Linked DNA regions of Homo sapiens: regions 1, 2, 3, 4, 5 and 6 are each linked to region 7. The links are contacts of gene promoters, found by promoter capture Hi-C in blood cells and fetal thymus (Javierre and others, 2016). All regions are on one chromosome and are shown on one strand. The core of a region is centred on a gene start or on the middle of the fragment in contact, and the rest is flanking DNA. Distances in the headings are between cores, read along the strand shown. Region 1 overlaps PDK3 (pyruvate dehydrogenase kinase 3). Region 2 overlaps ACOT9 (acyl-CoA thioesterase 9). Region 3 overlaps PDK3 (pyruvate dehydrogenase kinase 3). Region 4 overlaps PRDX4 (peroxiredoxin 4). Region 5 overlaps ACOT9 (acyl-CoA thioesterase 9). Region 6 has its middle 11 kb from the start of PRDX4. Region 7 holds the start of ZFX-AS1 (ZFX antisense RNA 1).

What was found. The method cuts DNA at HindIII sites, captures the fragments that hold promoters and counts their contacts. A CHiCAGO score of 5 or more calls a contact.
Region 1: a fragment that was not itself captured here is called in contact with the fragment with the promoter of ZFX-AS1 in region 7 in 9 of 17 cell types (fetal thymus, total CD4 T cells, activated CD4 T cells and 6 more); the score reaches 9.9 in fetal thymus.
Region 2: a contact is called between a fragment that was not itself captured here and the fragment with the promoter of ZFX-AS1 in region 7, in 5 of 17 cell types (total B cells, total CD8 T cells, naive CD8 T cells and 2 more). The highest score is 7.8, in total B cells.
Region 3: a fragment that was not itself captured here is called in contact with the fragment with the promoter of ZFX-AS1 in region 7 in 1 of 17 cell types (total CD4 T cells); the score reaches 5.0 in total CD4 T cells.
Region 4: a contact is called between a fragment that was not itself captured here and the fragment with the promoter of ZFX-AS1 in region 7, in 10 of 17 cell types (naive CD4 T cells, naive B cells, non-activated CD4 T cells and 7 more). The highest score is 10.6, in naive CD4 T cells.
Region 5: a contact is called between a fragment that was not itself captured here and the fragment with the promoter of ZFX-AS1 in region 7, in 9 of 17 cell types (naive B cells, total B cells, total CD8 T cells and 6 more). The highest score is 8.8, in naive B cells.
Region 6: a fragment that was not itself captured here is called in contact with the fragment with the promoter of ZFX-AS1 in region 7 in 2 of 17 cell types (total B cells and non-activated CD4 T cells); the score reaches 6.1 in total B cells.

Annotation. Positions count from the first base shown.
Region 1 is chrX:24,478,632-24,481,885 of GRCh38, reverse strand. All of the region lies in intron 1 of PDK3 (pyruvate dehydrogenase kinase 3), which reads right to left. Among named protein-coding and RNA genes, the nearest start is that of PDK3, 15 kb to the right of the region's middle. The HindIII fragment of the contact is 3,002 bases long and covers 1-2,757 here.
Region 2 is chrX:23,723,133-23,726,395 of GRCh38, reverse strand. All of the region lies in intron 6 of ACOT9 (acyl-CoA thioesterase 9), which reads left to right. Among named protein-coding and RNA genes, the nearest start is that of ACOT9, 19 kb to the left of the region's middle. The HindIII fragment of the contact is 5,864 bases long and covers 1-3,263 here.
Region 3 is chrX:24,499,767-24,502,754 of GRCh38, reverse strand. The region is part of intron 3 of PDK3 (pyruvate dehydrogenase kinase 3); the gene reads right to left. Among named protein-coding and RNA genes, the nearest start is that of PDK3, 36 kb to the right of the region's middle. The HindIII fragment of the contact is 1,355 bases long and covers 609-1,963 here.
Region 4 is chrX:23,675,354-23,678,636 of GRCh38, reverse strand. All of the region lies in intron 3 of PRDX4 (peroxiredoxin 4), which reads right to left. Among named protein-coding and RNA genes, the nearest start is that of PRDX4, 9.5 kb to the right of the region's middle. The HindIII fragment of the contact is 745 bases long and covers 1,661-2,405 here.
Region 5 is chrX:23,699,174-23,702,530 of GRCh38, reverse strand. It overlaps ACOT9 (acyl-CoA thioesterase 9), which reads left to right. Exons shown (of 16, transcript NM_001037171.2): 16 at 1-1,476. Among named protein-coding and RNA genes, the nearest start is that of PRDX4, 33 kb to the right of the region's middle. The HindIII fragment of the contact is 1,062 bases long and covers 1,412-2,473 here.
Region 6 is chrX:23,655,283-23,658,340 of GRCh38, reverse strand. No RefSeq gene overlaps it. Among named protein-coding and RNA genes, the nearest start is that of PRDX4, 11 kb to the left of the region's middle. The HindIII fragment of the contact is 6,235 bases long and covers 1-3,058 here.
Region 7 is chrX:24,148,012-24,151,077 of GRCh38, reverse strand. It overlaps ZFX-AS1 (ZFX antisense RNA 1), which reads left to right and starts at 1,424. Exons shown (of 3, transcript NR_046657.1): 1 at 1,424-1,523; 2 at 2,236-2,325. It overlaps ZFX (zinc finger protein X-linked), which reads right to left and starts at 1,349. Exons shown (of 10, transcript NM_003410.4): 1 at 1,284-1,349. RefSeq lists silencers at 343-852, 903-952, 973-1,382, 1,443-1,802 and enhancers at 893-1,706, 1,913-2,012. The HindIII fragment of the contact is 5,789 bases long and covers 1-3,066 here.

The sequences.
Region 1 (3,254 bases), core at 7-2,506, 330 kb before region 7:
ACAGATGATCTCTGTATTAGTTTGTTCTCATGTGGCTAGAAAGAACTACCTGAGACTGAGTAACTTATGAAGGAAAGAGGTTTAATTGACTCACAGTCCACATGGATAGGGAGGCCTCAGGAAACTTACAATCATGGCAGAGGCGAAGGGGAAGCAAGCACATCTTCACATGGTGGCAGGAGAGAGAGAGAGCAAAGGGAGAAGTGCTACACACTTTTAAACAACCAGATCTCATGAGAACTCACTCGCTATCATGAGAACAGCAAGGGGGAAATCTGCCCCCATGATCCAATCACCTCCCACCAGGCCCCACCACCAACACTGAAAATCATAACTCAACATGAGATTTGGGTGGAGACACAGAGCCAAACCACATCAGTCTCTAAGCTCAAGTTCCCACTGAATTAGTCTAAGAGGATAAGATTTTTGTTTGTCTCTCTATACAGTTATTTATCATACACTAACCTTGCCTACTAATATAAATTCTAAGAAAACTCTGGAGAGCAGTGCTAGGAGTAAACAGCCAAGGAAAAAAGGTGGAAGTCAAGAAAAAGGGGCCAGGCGCGGTGGCTCACGCCTGTAATCCCAGCACTTTGGGAGGCCGAGGCGGGCAGATCACGAGGTCAGGAGATCGAGACCACGGTGAAACCCTGTCTCTACTAAAAATACAAAAAATTAGCCGCGTGCAGTGGCGGGCGCCTGCAGTCCCAGCTACTGGGGAGGCTGAGGCAGGAGAATGGCGTGAACCCGGAAGGCGGAGCTTGCAGTGAGCCAAGATCGCGCCACTCCACTCCAGCCTGGGCGACAGAGCAAGACTTTGTCAAAAAAAAAAAAAAGAAAAAGAAAAAGAGTATGCACATTTACATTTTGTTCTTCTCTTTGTGATCTCCATCCAGAAAGCCTCCAACAACATTTTGGATAAAGGACAATTGGGTTAACACCTTACCTGTTCCCAGAAACCACCCTTATTTCAAAAACCTTTAAGGGCGAGGTAGGGACAGCAGCAAAAAGATACCACAAAATTATATGATTCATCCTTCTGACTAGCATACGTAAATTTATGTATTTGTCCCAGCTTCTCATTTATCTATGAGCTCCTCAAAGGCAATGAATATGCCTTGGCAATTTCCCAATGCTTCTTAGTTTCCATTTCATTCCAAATCCAGAACTTTCAACTAATGCTGATGGACTCCAGAATGACTTCGGTGTTAACCTTTGGCATCTCACTCACAGACTCTATCCCCTAAAGTGGTTCATAGCTCTTGGGCAAAAATTTCACCAGCTCTAACACTGTGGTTTTAACTCTGGAAGAATATTATTACACAATCGCCTGGGTAACCCAAAAGCACCAGCACCTAGACTCCTACCCGCAGCAATTGATTTAATTGGTTTATGTAGGGAGCAGGTGTCACTCATTTCAGGCGCTCCCCAGACAATTCTCATGAGCAGCCAGGACTGAGAACCATGGACTAGCATCTAATCATAGAAAATTCAATGAGGGTAAACAAATCAAAGAACTCCTCAAGCCCAGACAATGGCTATTAAGCATCCCCAATTTTTTATTTACCCATGTACTGTTGTCTTTATTTTCACCTTTGAGTTTTATTTCAGCCTCTTGGGAAACTGATCACAAACATCTTTGTACTCTGTAAGAGACTTTTCAGTGTCAGCTCTTTTTTTCCCTTTCACTTTCAGATGATCTTAAATGGGGAAGATAAAAACTAAACAAACTCGAGAAGGAAACGGCTGTGCTTCAGGATGTGGTAATGCTTGGGAGGCGGTGACAATGCACTCGATGGTCCTTTCCTCCAGTTTGTTTTGCTCACACACTGCGCCCAATCCCTCACCTACTTTCTCTGCTATAAAGAGGTGGTAAGACGATCAGGCGGGCAGACATGTGGCTCTACTACCTATTATACGTGTGAGTCATCTTCTTACCCGCTCAGAACTTCAGTTTCCTAATTGGTAAAATGGGCATGGCTGTTGTGAGAATTAGATGATATCCTGTTTTAGTTGGTAAGTACTCAGTAAGTGCTAGTCGAATCTATTGAATCTTTTTCAGGTGCCATATAAAGTCCTTTTTTTTTTGTTTGTTTTTTTTGAGACGGAGTCTCACTCCATCGCCCAAGCTGGAGTGCAGTGGCGCGACCTCGGTTCACTGCAACCTCTGCCTCCCTGGTTCAAGCGATTCTCCTGCCTCAGCCTCCTAAGTTGCTGGGATTACAGGCACGTGCCACCGCCTGGCTAATTTTTTTTTGTATTTTATTAGAGATGGGGTTTCACCATGTTTGCCAGACTGGTCTCAAACTGCTGATCTCAGGTGATCTGCCTGCCTCGGCCTCCCAAAGTGTTGGGATTATAGGTGTGAGTCACTGTGCCCAGCCAAGAGTCCATTTTAATTTCCTTCTCCAATAGCTTCACTGAAGTCAAGCTCAGGTCAAAGAAACAGGAATAGGAGTATGTAGGCCAGAGATAACACGGTAGAGAATATGTAAGGAGCTCTAACAAAAGAAGCAGTACCCTGGCCATGAAGGGCAATTTCTAGAGAACAGGAGACTCCCTGAGACAAGCAGCTTCCTCCCAGAAGAGTCTATTACAAATAAAGTGCTCACATGAGCACATCACATGACCAATGCAGGAACAGTAATACAGCAATAACCACTTTGCTTTCTATTTAACAGCAGAATCAGGAGGAGAAATTAACCAAAGTTATACAAAATCCACAGGCTGGTATTAAGAAATATCTGCTAGCAAGCTTAAGGAAACATTATACCCTACTAGGACAGATCCAAGAAAAGGTTCAGATAGAAGCCTGAGTGTTCTCTGGTCTATGAAAATGTAACAATTGTGGGAAAATATATGTAAGTTACAAATTTCAAAAGGCCCTACTGTTTTCTGGCCAGCAACACATGGCAAAATATTTAACTTCATGGTATGGGAAAATGTTAGAGAGATGATAATTTCTTCCCAACAGTGAGACTATTATATACTGACCTCCATGCCCTGGTAAGAGAGAAAGCAACACTGGTACAACTCAAATGGTTAAGGAGAATCATAGATCAAGTCCAAGAATGAAAATAAAATCACAACTGTTTAGGTGACCCTTAGGGAAATAACATACCACTGAGTTAGAACCCTAAGTATTCAATTAGAGCGAATATAAATGCTGACCTGTGCAAATGTAATAGTTTACTACAATTTTTCTGCCATTCATTATGGCAAAAGGTTTAATCTCAGAGTTAAGATGAGGCAAT
Region 2 (3,263 bases), core at 401-2,900, 420 kb after region 7:
GTCCAGCCCATCCTTGGGCTTTGGTGACATTTCCTTCTGCTTCTCTGGCTGCTCTTTTGTAGTCCCCTTTGTAGGTTCCTCTTTTTCTGTTGATCCCTTAAATGTAGGTTATCCCCAGGGTTTTGTCTTCTGCCCTTTCAAAAACTGATTATTTTTTGAATTTATTTTATTTTATTTTGTTTATTTATTTTTTTTGAGCTGTAGTTTCGCTCTTGTTGCCCAGGCTGGAGTGCAATGGCGCTATCTCAGCTCACTGCATCCTCCATCTCCCGGGTTCAAGGGATTCTCCTGCCTCAGCCTCCCATGTAGCTGGGATAACAGGCACACACCACCACGCCCGGCTAATTTTTTGTATCTTTAGTAGAGACGGGGTTTCACCATGTTGGCCGGGCTGGTCTCGAACTTCTGACCTCAGGTGATCCACTCGCCTCGGCCTCCCAAAGTGCTGGGATTACAGACGTGAGCCACTGCGCCCGGCCTTTTGAATTTTATAATTTGTTCATATTAATTAAATTTTAAGGCATTTTAAAATTTAACAATAAAATTGTTAAATCTTTTAAAATTATTTATTTAGTTTTTGAGACAGGGTCTCACTCTGTCACCCAGGCTGGAGTGCAGTGGCGTGATCACAGCTCACTGTAGCCTTGACCTCCTGGCTCAAGCAGTCCTCCTGCCTTAGCCTCCTGAGTAGCTGGGACTACGGGTGCACACCACCATGCCCAGCTAATTTTTTTGATTTTTAGTAGAGACAAGGTCTGCCATGTTGCCCAGGCTGGTCCCAAACTGCTGGACTCAAGGGATCCCCCCACCTCGGCCTCCCAAAGTGTTGGGATTACAGGTGTGAGCCACTGCGCCCAGCCCTATTTTTTCAGTTGAGGTTAAAATATAAAATTTACCATCTTTATCTTTTTTTTTTTTTTTTTTTGAGACAGAGTCTCACTCTGTCACCTAGACTGGAGTGCAGTGGCACCATCTCGGCTCACTGTAACCTCTGCCTCTCGAGTTCGAGCAGTTCTCCTGCCTCAGCTTTCGACGTAGCTGGGATTACAGGCATCTACCACAACGCCCAGCTAATTTTTGTATCTTTAGTAGAGATGGGGTTTTGCCATGTTGGTCAGGCTGGTCTCAAACTCGTGACTTCAGGTGATCCCCCCACCTCGGCCTCCCAAAGTGCTGGGATTACAGGTGTGAGCCACCGCGCCTGGCTCATCTTTATCATTTTTAAGTGTACTGATCAGTGGTAAAAACTACATTTATATTACATTTTCCTCCGTCTCTTCTCTACCCTTCCCTTCTGCCCTTTTTTGGGTTGACGTTGCAGATTCTCTATAAACTCATCTACTCCCAGTGTTTCAGTTGCTATCAGTATGCTGAATACTTACAAAGCTACATTTTCTGGCCTGCTTTTCTGAGTTTCAATCAATTTTTCCTCTTAGCTACTAGATTTATTTTTCTTTTTTAGAGACAGTCTCACTCTGTTGCCCGGGCTGTAGTGCAGTGGTAAAATCATAGCCTACTGCAACCTTAAACTTGCGGGCTCAAGTGTTCCTTCTGCCTCAGCCTCCTGAGTAGCTGGGACTATAGGCACACTGCACCATGCCTGGCTAATTTGTTTTGTTTTTTTGGAATAGGGTCTTGCTCTGTCACCCAGGGTGGAGTCCAGTGGTGCGATCACCACTCACTGTATCCTCGACATCTCGGGCTCAAGCATCCTCCCATCTTAGCCTCTCAAGTAGCTGGGACCACAGGCACACGCCACCATGCCTGGCTAATTTTTGTATTTTACTGTAGAGACGGGATCTCACCATGTTGCCTGGGCTGGTCTGGAACTCCTGGGCTCAAGTGATCCATCTGCCTCTGTCTTCCAAAGTGCTGGGATTACAGGCTTGATCCACCATGCCTGGCCTAATTTTTAAAGTTTTTTGTAGAGACAGGGGTCTCACTCTGTTGCCCAGGCTAGTCTCAAGCTCTGGGCTCACGTGATCCTCCTGCTATGGCCTTGCAAAGCCCTAGGATTACAGGTGTGAACAACTGTGCCCTCCCCAATACCTTCATTTGGATGTGCCATAGGCTCTTCAAATTCAACGCATTGAAAATGGCCCATTCTTTTCTTCCTATATTCTCTTTTTATTTTGAGACAGAGTCTTACTCTGTTGTTCAGGCTGGAGTGTAGCGGCATGATCATGGCTAACTACAGTCTTGACCTCCTGGGTTCAAGCAATCCTCCTACCTATCTCCCGAGTAGCTGGGACTACAGGCATGTGCCACCACACCTGGCTAACTTTTGTGTTTTTGGTAGAGATGGAGTCTCTGCTGTGTTGCCTGGGCTGGTCTTGAACTCCTAGGCTCAAGTGATCTTCCTGCCTTCGCCTCTAAAAGTGTTGGGATTACAGGCATGAGCCACTGTGCCCAGTCTCTCTTCTCTTTTTCAGTGACTAGTACACCACGCTTACCTATGCAAGCTAGAAAACTGAATTTATTCAAGTCTTCTCAGGTTTACCTTCTTCTTAACTCATAGTCTTTTCATTTCTACTCCTGTTGCCATAGGTTGGAGCCATCTGATTTCTTTGCTGGACAAAGACTTTTAAATGGAGTTTATTGCCTTTAGCCTATCATTCCCCCAGTGTGTCCTTTAGCAGGTGCATAGATGGAAGGATTTACACTTACTCAACAAGTATTTATTGAGCCACATATCTTGTCTGAGAGTTTGTGATACAAATTTGAATGGATCATGGGGGAAGCAGGGAGCCAATCAACATATAATCATACAACTTTTTTTTTTTTTTTTTTTTTTTTGAGACAGTCTTGCTCTGTTGCCAGGCTGGAGTGCAGTGGTACGATCTCGGCTCACTGCAACCTCTGCCTCCTGGGTTCAATTGATTCTCCTGCCTCAGCCTCCTGAGTAACTGGGACGCCACCACGCCCGGCTAATTTTTGTATTTTTAGTAGACATGGGGTTTCACCATGTCAGCCAGGATGGTCTCGATCTCTCGACCTCGTGATCCGCCTGCCTTGGCCTCCCAAAGTGCTGGGATTACAGGCTGAGCCGCCGCGCCCGGCCCAACGTATAATTATACGACTTTAAATGAGTTGATATCTGTAAGGTGCATGAACCATGCATGGCACATATAAATGCTTGTTAAAATATGGAAAGTATACAGATAACCACAGGGTGGTATAGGAGTCAAGGGTGTTATGGGGAAGGAGGGATAACTGAGTGAAATAATTGTTTCATGATTAATTAGGACAAAGCCAGGAGGAAA
Region 3 (2,988 bases), core at 37-2,536, 350 kb before region 7:
CTTCTGCCTCAGCCTCCCGAGTAGCTGAGACTACAGGTGTACGCCACCACGCCTGGCTAATTTTTGTATTTTTAGTAGAGACAGGATTTCACCATATTGGCCAGGCTGGTCTTGAACTCCTGACCTCGTGATCCGCCCACCTCAGCCTCCTAAAGTGTCTCATACAGTTTAAGAGTAAAATTTGGAAATAAATATCTCGCAGCAGTAAAATACAGTGATGAAATGCAGACAGAACACAGGAAATTAAACTATTCAAGTATCTGGCATCTTATTGTAAATATGCATATGGGAAAATACATTAAGAATGGTATAAGACAAGTCAGTCAATGGAACTAAATAAAAAGTTTAGGACCAGGCCCATGAGTGAGTATGTATATATAAAAATCGAGCATATTGAGAAAGTGACATTGCAAATCAGTAGGTAAACAATCAAACTAATAATCAAGTTAACTGGAACAGCGGGCTAACAATTTCAGTCACATCCTAATTTCAAGACTTAAAACCAAATACTGGATTAAAAATGTAAAAGGGTGAAATCACAGAAATGATAACAGAAAAATCAGGTGAATAAGTACATAATCTTGGGATAAGGAGGGCTGTTCTAAGCTTAATATCAAAGGTAGAAACAAATAATGTGAAGAAACAAATGATATGACTATGTAGAATTTTAGCAATCCTATAGGGACACACATTAATAAATGAAGTAGAAAAAAAACAAAAAACTTAAAAAAAGGAAAAAACTAGCACCCCATCAGAAAACTAGGCAAAGGATCTGCTATCAATGCAAAATTTACCAAAGAAGAAGCACAAATGCCAATAACGTCACCCTTACAAATAAGAAAAGCAAATCAAAACAATGTGATACTTATTATTCTCCACGTATCAGCATCAGCTAGAGTTTGGGGCTTAACTGAGGCACTTCTCAGGACAATCAGCAACATACAGCAAAAGCCCAAAGAAAATAATTCCACTTGGAGGAATTGATCCTAGGAAAATAACTGGAAAAGGTGAACAGCTGTTTGTTTGTTTGTTTATTTATTTATGAGACAGAGTCTTGCTCTGTTGCCCAGGCTAGAGTGCAGTGGCACAATCTTGACTCACTGCAACCTCTGCCTCCCGCGTTTAGGCAATTCTCCTGCAGCCTCCCAAAGTACCTGGGATTACAGGTGCCCACCACCACGCCTGGCTAATTTTCATATTTTTAGTAGAGACAGGGTTTCACCATGTTGCCCAGGCTGGTCTCGAACTCCTGGCCTCAGGTGATCCGCCCGCCTTGGCCTCCCAAAGTGCTGGGATTACAGGCGTCGGCCACCATGCCCGGCCAACAGATGTATTTAAAAGCTGTTCTTTAAAGCATTGTTTATAGTAGCATGAAAACTACAAACCAGTCTAAAATCCAGTGATAGAAGATCAAATTGCATGAACTATCTGAAGATGGACTATTAACATGAATATTATGAAACTATTAATAATGGTGTAGATCTATAATGTTGACACTTGTTATGTTTGTAAAAATATTTTACGCATATAAATATATGCATGCCTAGGGAAAAGCACGGAAGAAAGGAAAATAGTAATAGTGGTTGTCCCCTGGTAGTAGAAATTTGGGGTGACTTTCTTTTTACTTATCTCAATAGTCTTATTTTTCTGAAATATTTGATGAAATATTTGACGAAATATTTCTGTAACAAATACATACGTACAATGACAATAAAGATGTAAAACTCTGAAATTAGGCCATCGTCATTCACAAAAAATTTTATAATAGACAATTTGTCCTTTATGTAATACTCGTTGCAATGTATTTGTAAGTTAAATATTACTAAAGTGAAACGATTCATTATAGTAGAGAAGTGCCTCAACTTATCTGAAGTGGGGAGACTTACCTCAATGGCTCAATGCTCAGAATTCTCCTCCAATCTTCCGGGCTCTTCTAAACTCTATCATAAATGATCAACAAGCTTGTCCTCTAAGCTACTTTTGCTTTACTAAAATGATTTCCCTGCTGGTGATCCCATACAACCTCTTGGTAAACAGAAAAGGCTGCTACCATGATACTCGCTCACCTTTCACTCCTTCCTTCACCAAGAACATCAGCCTTCTCAAATGCCAACTATCATAACTAACCACATGAACCTAGGCAAGCTACAAAACTCACGGAGTGAGAGCTCAGCTATTATTGCTATCGTCAAGCACACACTGGATTCAGCACTGACAGTTTGCAAAGCAGGCTCGTGGCCATAAATCACATCGGATAACCTGTTCCAGAAACTGAGACGGGACTCCGGGAAAAACACAGCAGAAATTTAACATCGTGTATAGTCGTCTCTCAGTATCCGCAGGGGACTGGTTCCAGGATCCCCGCAGATACCCAAATCCTCAGATGCTCAAGTCCCTTATCTAAAATAGTGCATACAGCCTACTCACATCCTCTCGGATACTTTAAATCATCTCTAGACTAGTTATAATACCTGATACAATGTAAATGCTATGTAAACAGTTGATAGACTGTATTTTAAAATTTTGTATTATTTCTTATTGTTGCATTGTTATTTTTTATTGCTTTTTTTTTTCCTGAATATCTTTTCAATCTGTGGCTGGTTGAATCCAAGGATGTGGAAACTGCCAGTACAAAGGACCAACTATACTTCTACAAATTTGTTCTAAAATTTGGAGCTACAGTGGTCAGCCCTAGGTTTTAGGATTTCTGCCAAACGGTTACCAGCTAATGACTTTTGAGAAAACAAAGCTCCTGGATTGAATTCATTTAATAATCGCTTAAATGACAGCAGTGGCTTATATCAAGGAAAACGCTACATCTGGGGCTCTAACCCAATGCTTCCCTGCCTTCCACACTTCACAGATCCATCAGACAAACACCCAACAAAGTATAAAATAGGTGAGGGCTTTTGTTTTTCCTTTGAATTTTAGTTTACAACTAGACTAGAACTAGCTACTCATGGCTCAGACGTAAACATAGCTTATAGG
Region 4 (3,283 bases), core at 784-3,283, 470 kb after region 7:
TTTTTCTGAGACGGAGTCTTGCTCTGTCGCCCAGGCTGGAGTGCAGCAGCGTGATCTCGGTTCACTGCAACCTCTGCCTCCCAGGTTCAAGCGATTCTCCTGCCTCAGCTTCCCAAGTAGCTGGGATTACAGGCATGTGCCACCACACCTGGCTGATTTTTGCATTTTTAGTAGAGTCAGGGATTTACCATGTTGGCCAGGCTGGTCTCGAACTCCTGACCTCAGGTGATCCACCCGGCTTGGCCTCCCAAAGTACTGGGATTACAGGCGTGAGCCACCGCGCCTGGCCTATAACACATTTTTAATGTATGGATACACAGATACTCCTTGACTTAAGATGGGGTTGTTTCTTTCTTTCTTTTTTTTTTTTGAGATGGAGTCTTGCTCTGTCACCCAGGCTGGAGTGCAATGGCACGATCTTGGCTTACTGCAACCTCTGCCTCCCAGGTTCAAGTGATTCTGCTGCCTCAACCTTGTAAGTAGCTGGGATTACAGGCACCCGCCACCACGCCCAGCTATTTTTCGTATTTTTAATAGAGATGGGGTTTCGCCACGTTGGCCAGGCTGGTCTCAAACACTTGACCTCAGGTGATCCGCCCACCTTGGCCTCCCAAAGTGCTGGGATTACAGGCCACTGTGCCCGGCTGGGGCTGTGTCTTGATAAACACATCATAAATTGAAAATATCATTAGCTAAAAATGTATTTACTATCCCATAAACCCACTGTAAAGTTGAAAAATTATACGTCAAACCATCGTAAGTCAGGAACATCTTTACTGTATTTTACTTAATTCCATGATGAAGATTTAAACCATTTACCTTTTTTTTTTGCTTTATAAACACTGCTGAAAACATCCTTGTATTCTTACTTTTATACACTTGTCTAATTGATTTCTGAAAGTGAAACTGATAGATCAAAAGATACGTAGTATCAAAAGCATAACCTTAGTAGTGTGATCATAAGATAAAGCCTTGAACAGACAGGCAGGATACAAATGGATGACATTTTAATATTCTGAGAGACAAATGCAAAGTCCACTTGAAGCAGTGAAGGAAGTGAGTTATAATATCAGATGCCTCAGTCTTCACTACAGGTTGAGTATCCCTTATCGGAAGTGCTTGGGACCAGAAGTGTTTTGGATTTAGGATTTTTTCCGATTTTGGTATATCTGCATACTTACTGGTTGAACATCCCTAATCTGAACTCTGAAATGCTTCACTAAGCATTTCCTTTGAGCATCATGTCAGCACTCAAATTTTGAATTTTGGAACACTGTGGATTTCAGGTTAGGGACGCTCAATCTGTATTCTGTAACTTGAAACCAGGAGACATGGGCTGATGCTCTAACAGGAGGGTACTGACACAGCAGATAGAAAACAAAACGACATTGCTCTAGATATCTGGAGCCCCAGTTCTGACACCCAAGTAGAAATTTCTGGTTGATGTGAACCCTATCAGGCTGAGAATGTATCCCCAAATTTCCTTGGGAAAGCAATCCCAAATTATTTGGGATGCCATAACTTTTTCCTTAGTGGATATGCATTTTAATCCTCGGAAGATTTATAATTACTACAGAAGTGATGAAGCACAGCCCGGGCAACATGGCAAGACTCCATCTCTACAAAAATAAAAATTAAAATAGGTATGGTGGTGCAAGCTTGCAGTCCCAACTATTTGGGGAGGTAGAAGGATTGTTGGAGCCCAGGAGTTCAAGGCTGCAGGGAGCTATGATTGATTGTGCCACTGCACTCCAGCCTGGGCAACATAGTAAGACCCTGTCTTTCTTTTTTTAAAGGAAATGATGAAGCAAATTAAGCCTATATTTTAATTTTTTTTTTTTTTTTGAGACAGGATCTCACTCTATTGCCCAGGCTGAAGTGCAGTGGTATGATCTTGGCTCACTACAGCCTCGACCACCTAGGCTCAGGTCATCCTTCCATCTCAGGCTCCCGAGTAGCTGGGACCACAGGCATGCACCACCAGACCTGGCTAATTTTTTTTATTTTTTGTATAGATGGGGTCTCACTATGTTGCCCAGGCTGGTCTTGAACTCCTGGGTTGAAATGATTCTCCTGCTTTGACCTCCCAAAGTGCTGGGATTATAGGCGTGAGCCACCATGCCAGGCTATTTTAATATTTTTACATTAAGAAATAATCAGTACATATTTATATGTTAAGTTATTTATAATGTTTAAGAGAATTTGGCATATTAGAACTACTTAAGTATTTGGGAAGGTTTGTCTGAAAATTGAGATACTTAAGGAATTCAAATATATTAAATATATAACTGCATTTAAAAATACTTATGGGAATTAATTTCTTAGGGAAATGTAATTAATTAAATTGTAGCTCACCAAGCAATGAAAATTTGTTATACACACACAGATTATAAATGAGAAAAGCTTGTGTTTCAAATTTGTAACTTTAATAAATTGAATATTATGTTTTAAAACCAATAGTTCTGAATCTTTTTTTTTTTTTTTTTTTTTTTTTTTTTTTGAGATGGAGTTTCACTCTCATTGCCCAGTTGCCCAGGCTGGAGTGCAATGGCGTGACCTCGGCTCACTGCAACCTCCACCTCCTGGGTTCAAGTGATTCTCCTGCCTCAGCCTCCTGAGTTGCTGGGATTACAGGCACCTGCTACCACGCCTGGCTAATTTTGTATTTTTAGTAGAGACGGGGTTTCTCCATGTTGGTCAGGCTGGTCTCGAACTCCCGACCTCAGGTGATCTGCCTGCCTCGGCCTCCCAAAGTGCTGGGATTAGAGGCATGAGCCACTGTGCCCAGCCCAATTCTGAATGGTCTTTATTGTGCACAAAGTTTTCTGCACAAGACTGTGGACACTATAAAAACTCATATTAACATGTAAATTTCCAATTTTGAGACATGTTGCCCAACTGCTCTCCAGAAATGCTAAACAGCTGTGTGTGAGTGCCGTTTCTTCAATTTTTGTCCACAGTGGATACATTTTTTCAATCTTTTAAATCTTGGCCAACCAGACAGGGAAAATTGGCATCTCGTCATTTTAATTTGCAATTCTTTATAACGAATTTAGGTAAAACATCTTTTTATGATTAATGAATTTTTAAACATTTTTTAAAATTCATTTTTAAAAAGTATTGTTTCTTCAAAATTGTAAAAGCTGAGTTTGACTATATAACTGTGTAACAGAGAAATGGCATATTTTAAAGATTTTTTTCCTCCAGATTATGGTAACCCAATTTATCATAAGCATATAATTCAGTGGTTTTCGCTATAGAAATCACATCTATTGCATTTAAC
Region 5 (3,357 bases), core at 693-3,192, 450 kb after region 7:
GCCTGTAATCCCAGCACTTTGGGAGGCCAAGGCGGATGGATCATGAGGTCAGGAGTTCAAGACCAGCCTGGCCGAGATGGTGAAACCCCGTTTCTACTAAAAATACAAAAATTAGCCGGGCGTGGTGGCGGACGCCTGTAATCCCAGCTACTCGGGAGGCTGAGGCAGAGAACTGCTTGAACCTGGGAGGCAGAGGTTGCAGTGAGCTGTGATCATGCCACTGCACTCCAGCCTGGGTGACAGAACGAGACTCCATCTCAAAAAAAAAAAAAAAAAAAAATCTGTAGCCAAGACCGTTCCTTTTTTGACAGGAAGGTAACTTAGAAGAAAAAATAATCTCTGAAAAAAGTCCTCCCAAGAAGGAAGCAATATTTATTGTGGGTTCTACATTAGTGTTCACAAACTTGGCTCTGCCTCAGAATTAGGTGGAAAGTATTTTTGTGTGTGTGTGTGTGTGTGAGACAGAGTTTCACTCTGTCGCTCCAGCTGGAGTGCAGTGGCATGATCTTGGCTCACTGCAACCTCTACCTCCCGGGTTCAAGCGATTCTCCTGCCTCAGCCTCCTGAGTAGCTAGGATTACAGGTGTCAGCCCCCATGCCTGGCTAGTTTTTGTATTTTTAGTAGAAAGGCGGTTTCACCATGTTGGCCAGCTGGTCTCAAATTCCTGACCTCAGGTGATCCACCTACCTTGGCCTCCCAAAGTGCTGGGATTATAGGCATGAGCCACTGCACCCGGCCGGTGGAAAGCATTTTTAACAAAAAATTTTTAGGCCAGGCACAGTGGTGGCTCATGCCTGTAATCCCAGCACTTTGGGAGACTGAGATGGGAGGATCGCTTGAGACCAGCCTGGGAAACATAGTGAGACCCTTTCTCTACAAAAAGTTAAAAAATTATCTGAGCATGGTGGTGTGCACCTGTAGTCCCAGTTAGGAGGCTGAGGTGAGTGGATTGCTTGAGTCCAGGAGTTTGAGTCTGCAGTGAGCTATGATCATGCCACTGCACTCCAGTCTGGGTGACAGCAAGACCCTGTCTCAAGCAATTTTTTTATATTAGTTTATGTAATGTTTATTGAAATCACAGTGTCAACAAGCACCTCTGGCATGAAATAGTCACAGGAGCGAACACAACTATCTCTTGGAAGCATGCAGTTTGACTCATGGAATCAAGCATGTGCTGTACTATAATAACTTGTCTCTCCATGCCGTAATGCCATCCTGACTGAGATTTACCTGGCCCTTCAATATAGCATTTTGCATATCTACCTATGACATGATGGGAGGTGGCTAATGGGGAGGGATGCGCCCTGGGGAGTTTTGTGAATGTGTTAAGTGGAGTTAAGAGACCTACTGCATGCTATTGTATAGATTATACATTATATATTTAACCATTTGTTGCTGTACAGTGAAGCTTTTTCTAGTATTTCTTTTTTGCTATTATAAACAATGTTGCAGTAAATATCCTAAATACTCTAAAACATTTGACCCTTAAATTATTTTCTTTGGAAAAATATTAAATGAGATATTTAGGTCAAATAGTAGGCACACGTTGAAGGCTTTGAATATGTATTTCATGTAACCCTTCAGAACAGTTTCACACAATCACTTACACATCAGCAATTTCCCTGAACTTTGCCAATTTTTATCTTTTCTTTTTAAAATATCTTTGCCATTTTGATAGGTGAAGAATGACCTTCTGCTGGATGTGGTGGCTCACACCTGTAATCCCAGCACTTTGGGAGGCCAAGGCAGATTGCTTGAGGTCAGGAGTTCAAGACCAGCCTGGGCAACACGGTGAAAACCTGTTTCTACAAAAATACAAAAATTAGCAAGGTGTTGTAGTCTCACCAGTGCGCCAAAATGTAGCAGTCTTTGGTTGTCTGAGATAGTATCCGGAGTTCTTTGTGTCACAGAGCACGAACACAAGGGTGAGGTTGGAGCAAAAGTTTAGTAAGCAAAACAAGAAAGCTCTCGGCTGGATTCGGTGGCTCACACCTGTAATCCCAGCACTTTGGGAGGCCGAGGTCCGGAGTTCAAGACCAGCCTGACCAACATGGAGAAACCCTGTCTTTACTAAAAATACAAAATTAACTGGGCGTGGTGGCACACGCCTGTAGTCCCAGCTACTTGGGAGGCTGAGGCAGGAGAATCGCTTGAAGCCGGGAGGCAGACGTTGCGGTGAGTTGAGGATCGCGCCGTTGCACTTCAGCCTGGGCAACAAGAGCAAAATTCCGTCTCAAAAAAAAAAAAAAAAGCTCTCCGCAGCGGAGAGTGGGGGCCTGAACGGGTTGCCCACTATGAGGTTGGGGTCGGGGGTTTTTGCGGACTGGGAAGGGGAAGGAATTTGCTTAGTCTGTGAGCTGTCTTGGAGAAAGCTAGATTCAGCTTGGCCCGGGACCAATCAGGAGCTGAATTGATGATTCATTGAGACCACTCAGCTTGGCCCGGGACCTATCAGGAGCTGAAGTGAAAGCTTGGCCCGGGGACCAATCGTGCTGAAGTAATTCTTAGAGGCCGGGCTCACAGTCGAAAGAGGAAAGGAAAGTGCCCATCGGAGTCGTCGGAGCCCACAGTATTAATGCCCACGAAAGGAGAAGAAACTTTTTCCCGGGAACCTGCTGATTATACAAAAGACAAAGACATTTCTATGTCAGGTCTTGTTCCCTTATCTGAGTGAGCTGGAGGTTTGTGCAAGTTTTTATCTAAGTGGGCTGGAGGTTCTCGGATCTGTGCAGCCGCGGGCTTGTCTCCAGGCACACCACCACCCTGTGCTACTTCCCTTATCGGTGCCTGCAGCTTGATTTTTATCCCCAGGCTGCTTTCTCTGTTCTGTGGGGATGAGGCACTGACCCGTGGGTTGGGGGCTCTTTGGGGACCCTTCCCTTGCTGTCTACCTAAGGAAAGCTAGCTAACTCCTCTCAGAGTGATGGTGCACACCTGTAGTCCCAGCTACCCAGGAGGCTGAACTGGGAGCATTGCTTGAGTCCAGGAGTTTGAGGCTGTAGTAAGCCAAGATCACGCCACTGCACTCCAGCCTGGGCAACAAGTGAAACCCTGTCCCCCCCCACCCCCCCAAAAAAAGAAAACTGACATTTGTTAATTGCCTTTCTCTGAATTCTACTGAGATTGAAATTAAATTGCTTATTGTTTTTGTTGTCTTTTTGTTAAATTGCTCACGTAATTTTGGATACCAGAATCTTCACCCCAAATCTGTCCTCTACCAATACAGATATAAAAGCTAGAGGTTTTGGTTTTTAATACAGGACTTTTAAGAAGATGAGGTGAAGCAAACTAACGGATATACACTAGGTTCTGGATTATTAGTGTTATGTCCCTCTCAAAGAATAAAGGAGAATTTT
Region 6 (3,058 bases), core at 516-3,015, 490 kb after region 7:
TCTCATTTGAGCATCATAGCTGTGAAGTGAGACATTATCATCTCCTGTCTCAGATGTTATCTGTTCACATTTGTCCGGGCTTTTCTAGGAATGGTTTCTTCTTTGAGATACATTTTTGATATTGCCATCCCACAATTGTTAGAGGGAAGGTAGACCCTTTTCTAAACGGTGGACTTTCTTCCAGAACATGTCTTCATCAGCAGTTTGTTGAGAAGCCTTTGATGGTAATAAAGAGATGGTAATAAAGAGGTGGTAATAAAGAGAAGGAAACTGCCTTGGGGATCGGTTTTTCCCATGTCTAGGAGGAAATCTCTGGAAGATCCCATAGACATCTGTTGACTTTTAAATAACCAACCATCCTGTTGTCACTTCTAACCAGTTAGAAGCCCAATGTACTATATCAATCAAAACCCTATGCTCCTAAAGACTGAGGCGTTTCAGCCTACTCTATTTTTATTTATTTATATTTAGTAATTTTTTTATTTTTATTTTTATTTTTTTGTAGAGGCAAGGTGTCACTATGTTGCTCAGGCTGGTCTTGAACTTTTGGCCTCAAGCTATCCTCTCACCTTGGCTTCCCAAAGTGCTGGGATTATAGGAGTGAGCCACTGCACCCAGCCCATTTCCATGAACTCTTAACTGGAGCATTCATGGGTTTTGTCATCCTGTCAGTGATGTGTATATATATGTAACAGGATGGATATAGTAACTCTTTTTTTTTTTTTTTTTTTTTTTTTTTTTGAGATGGAGTCTCACTCTGTCGCCCAGGCTGGAGTGCAGTGGCGCGATCTTGGCTCACTGCAAGCTCCGCCTCCCGGGTTAAAGCCATTCTCCTGCCTCAGCCTCCTGAGTAGCTGGGACTACAGGCGCCCGCCACCACGCCCGGCTTATTTTTGTATTTTTGGTAGAGACGGGGTTTCACCGTAGTCTCGATCTCCTGACCTCGTGATCTGTCTGCCTCGGCCTCCCAAAGTGCTGGGATTACAGGCGTGAGGATATAGTAACTCTTTTTGCCTTTCCTGTCTTCATCTCCTCTCCCCTTGACCACCACTCTTTTTTTTTTTTTTTTTTTGAGACAGGGTCTCGATCTGTCACCCAGACTGGAGTGCAGTGGCACAATCGTTGTTCACTGCAATCTCCACCTCCCAGGCTCAGGTGATCCTCCTGCCTCAGCCTCCCAAGTAGTTGGGACTACAGATGTGTGCCACTACACCTGGCTAGTTTTTGTATTTTTAGTAGAGATGGGGTTTTACCATGTTGTCCAGGCTGGTCTTAAACTCCTGACCTCAAGTGATTCACCCGCCTTGGCCTCCCAAAGTACTGGGATTACAGGCGTGAGCCACTGCAGCCGGCTGTAAAAGTGTGTTTTTAGAGTTTTTAGTGGAATAATAATTTGGGCCTTGTCCTTGGCCTTGCATGTCTCTGTGCATGAGATGACATATCTGGTCTGGAATGTGTGGCTGAAAAAGTTGGCCCTTTTATTAGACAAGACAGCACACTAGTTAGGTTGGTTTCTAAGACACATCTTCTCACCTAAGTGGTAGGCAAGAGGGGCAATAAAGTTCCTCCACTAGGAGATTGTAAATTCCATGTTAGGATGGATAAGGCACCAGGGATCCATGGCACTGGACTTACTGTGGTCAAGCCATTGAATGAGATGAGATTCTTATGACTGTGTAACACAGATAGGGTGGATTAGGAGAGATCAAGGCTCCCTGGAATCCTTGTCTACACGATGGGTGAGTGGGAGTGTAGGGGTCCTCCCACTGTCCAACAGTGGGCCAAGGTAGGGGTAAATGGGCCTGCTGTGTGTGGGCCAAGTTAGGGGGAAGATAAGATAGTTTCTTTGGGGTCCAATAGTGTATGTCACCTGTTGAAAAAGTTTGGAAGGTTAGGCAGCAAGAGGTAAGATTGAAATCATCTGTTTAATTGGTGCCTAATTATTGTTAAAGGTACCTTTTTTGTAACCCCAGAGGATGGCTGAAAGCAAGTACAAACTCGTGCTTACTGGTGCCAGTTGTTCTCGTGGTGTGTCTCGCACCTCTTTATTTTCTGGGCTTCCAGCCAAGGAGAGTAGATGGTCTCCTGGAAGCCGGTATTGTAGTGTCTGTGTAAAAATTATTTATAGTCTTTGTTTCTATAAAAATTGTCTGAATGCAGCTGGTAGAACTTGTAGCGAAAAGATAAAAAAGTTAAAAGTGATCTTATCATTGAGAGGCCTGTGAGCTGATTCATTGTATGCACTGTTTACTAATGTGTAATTAATTTTGAAATGTGTTATATGTTGAATTGTGAATGCTCAAATCTTATCGGTGAAAAATTATTATTATTTATTTTTTTGAGATGGAGTATTGCTCTGTCACCCAGGCTGGAGTGCGGTGACGTGATCTTGGCTCACTGCAACCTCTGCCTCCTGGGTTCAAGCAACTCTCCTGCCTCAGCATCCCGTGTAGCTGGGAATATAGGCATGCACCACCATGCCCAGCTAATTTTTGTATTTTTAGTAGAGACAGGATTTCACCATGTTGGCCAGACTGTTCTCAAACTCTTGACCTTGTGATCCACCCACCTCGTCCTTCCAAAGTGGTGGGATTACAGGCGTGAGCCACCGTGCCCGGCCTGAAAAATTCCTCTTATGCCTAATGCTTTCACTGTGTTATAATCTCTCAACTGGCAAACTGAAGGTGTCAACCCTATGGCCTCGGATGCACACCAGCAAGGGAAACTTAAGATCCCCAACAAAATCCGGGGCTTACCTACCAGTTATGATACTTGAAATAATGTAAGTGGTTTCCCTCACTGAATCCCATTTGTAGTCAAAGAACAACTATTGTCTTTCACCAAATAAAGTATTCTGTGTTCCTGAGAGAACAGTTATTGCTACAAAATGGCTGCAAAAGTTGGCCTGTTTATTTTAAAGTAAAAGAGGGAAAACTACATGGGGCTCTGCCACACCTGGTTTTTCACAGATTGGTTCCATCATATTTTTAATTCCCTTTTCCTGGAGGCTGATAAGGTCATAGTGCCCTTTTGGAAAAAATACAAGTGAGATCCCACA
Region 7 (3,066 bases), core at 175-2,674:
ATCGAAATACCATGACAGGCAAATGCACAATAAATATGCACCACACTAAGTTGTCCTCCAATAAGAAAATAAAAAAGTCTGCCCTTATTCCTCGATTTAAAAAAATACCACCAACAGATCACTACTTAAATCGTTTTTCAAGAAAGTTGTTTCCACATAAATGAGTACGAATGATTCAAAATTTTATTCCTCCGCTCTCGTGTTGTGCAATTTTTTTCCCTATAGGACAAAAGAATGGCAAAAACTTTCCCATCAATCTTTATTTTTCTTCCTTTATTCAGATACTCGGGGCGGCAAAGATTGTTGGAAAAACAACTGCATCGAAAGCACCTTAGCAGCCACATATGATTTGACTTAAGCAAAAATAACATTTCCTGGGGTCCCGTATGCCCTGGTAAGCCCAGGTGTCCGGAATGCCACCTGCCCCGACTGCCCTCGGGTGGCTACAGGCGCGGGGGAAGGCGCAGGGCCAGGGGCGCTGAGGGTGAAACGGTCCCGGCGTCCGGGCGGCGGCGGTGGCCGCCTGCGGCAGCTCAGCTGAAACGCAGCGGAAACTGCAGCCAGTCACGGGGCTGCGGGAGGCAAGGCAGGAAGGTGGCGCTGCCGCCGAGCGCCTGGAGCCCGAGCGCTCATCATGGCGGCAAGGGCAATGGCCGCCACGGGGAGCGAGCACGCCCCTCCGCGCGCACACGCCGCCGCGCCGGGCCTCCGGGGCCCGTCACCGGCGCCGCTGCCGCCGCCGCCCGCTCTCCCACCCCCCCTCACGGGCTGTAGCGGAATTTTCTCTCCAGACACCGCCTCCAAGATGGCGGCTCCCCCTCCCGGCAACCCCCTCTATCGTCCCCTGCAGCAGGCGCCGAGCCGCCGCCATCTTGTCCCCCGTCCCTCCCCCCCCCTCACCGATATTTACATAGCGAAAATCGGCCCGGCCGGCCTGCGGCCTTCACCTCACGCCTGCAGCCTTCGCCTCCTCGCCAGGCCTCACCCCGGCGCGGTGCCCCAGGTCGGCCGCGGAGCCGACCCGGGGCCCCTCGACCGCCTCCGGCACAACCGGGCGACCCTCCCCCAACCCCCGCCCGCTTACGGAGCGCGCCTCCGCCGCCGCTCGGGGCAGCCGGGCTCCTCCCCGGGCCTAACTGCGGCCTCCTCGGGGCCTGCTCGGCGCCGCGCGCCACGCCGCCCGGCCTAGCGCGGGAGGGCGCCTTGCGGGCCGCCGACCAGGCCGAGACCAGGCCGCTGTGCGCGCACTAGGCCCCGCGGCCGCGGCGGCACCCGGGACTCACCGGACGGACGTGCGGGCGGCCGGCGACGGTGGCGGGTGCTGCAGGCCGGCCTTTCTCTGGAGCACTGGGCCGGGCTCCGGCTGGTGGGGCGGGCGGAGGGAGGGAGGAGGGGCCGAGCTCGGAGCTGACAAAAAGCGGCCCAGCTCCCCGGCACGGGCCCGCCGTCAGCACGTCACGTCACCGCCCGGGAGAGAGACCCAGGAAAATGCGGAAGGGTAGACAGGCCCCCTCCTCCGCCCGGTGGGTCCTCCTGGCACCCCGTGTCGGCGCCGCTCCCGCCCCGCGACCGGGGAGCCCAGTGGCCTCGCTGCGGCGGGGTCTCCGGCGGCCGGAGTCTCCGTGACAGCGCCCCCCTTCTTTCCACCTCCTCCGCGCTCCCGCCCGCCGCCGCCACACACGCGCCGCTGCCGCCGCCGCCTCGGCCGTAAAGCCCGCGCGGGGCCGCGGTCGGCCGACCCCGCGGAGAGGCAGGCGGCCCGGCCGCCCCCCACCATGTCCCGTGGGCCGCGGCCGCCCCCCGGGGGCCTCCCTGGAGACCTACCGCCTCTCGCGCCGGTCCTGGCCGAGGCTCCAGCTCGAGTTGTTTGCAGGCCCTCAGACCCCCGCCCGCAGTAAATGTGTTTTCTTCATCCCCGTGGCTGGGGAGGAAGATAAATTTAGCAACCCCCGCCGTCCCCTGCCTTCGCTTAAAAAAAAAAAATCTTTGAAATAAAATGAAAACGGGCTTGCCAGTCTAAATGGGTGTGCGGGAAGGGGGGTGGAGTGGGGGGAGAAGGGTTATCCCTAGAGCACCTACCAGGCCGTCTACTTTTTAAAAATAAGCAGTCAGAGCCAAACTGATTTTATTAGTTTGTACGGGGGAGGGAGATGAGCAAAGTTGCATTTTGAAACGTTTCGCACGTTGCAAAGAACAGGAATTTTCTGTGTATTTTCCTATGTACCCGTGTTTCAGAGCTTGGGAGCCTGTGAAATGTAAGACTGGTGTCATCGTTTCATAAATCATGAATTTTCCACATTCCTTAATAGAGAGGAGCCCAATTGGGTATGGATTTTTTTTTTTTTAAACACACTGCTTAAACAAGCCTTTTGAAGTTTCAAAAGACTTGGGAGAGAAGGGGAAAATGATTAAACAGCACTTACCAACTTCAAAAATGTGTATTTCGCACTTTACTTAGTTTAAATGTTTATGCTATCTTTCCATGCTGAACTTGGAACCCAAACTCTGTTTTAAAGTTACTAGGGAAAAGTTAAATAGTGGAGTCTTTACATTAATCTGGAATCTGGCATGCTATCCTTTAACACAGCACTAAATGTTAAAGGCATTTTTAAACAATAAGAAACACAAAAATTATAAAGCAAATAGTATACTGGTGTGAAATCTCTTTAAATACAGAGGCCACGTATTTTAGTTGCCTGACATAACTCTTTAAAACTCCCAGAATGCAATTTGTCCCTTCCCTCAGACATCTCTCAATCACAAATGCTTTCAAAAAGGAAAAACAAAAGTAGAGTAAGAAGAAATCTCTGAGCATGCACTGGATGATAATTTTCCTCTCGGGGCTTTAGTCTGAATTTTTCCAAGCGATTAAATTTCCTTTCAAAAATAGTAACAGCATGTATTCATTGTTTATAAAAATTACATCAGGCTGTGATAGACTTTCACAGAAAGACATTTCACAGAAAGGTAAATGAAACTAAGCAATGTTGTTTCAATAAAAAAAAATGAGAAATAGCTTGTGTGCCCACATTAATATTTCTTGCACTCCCAGACTGGAGTGCAATG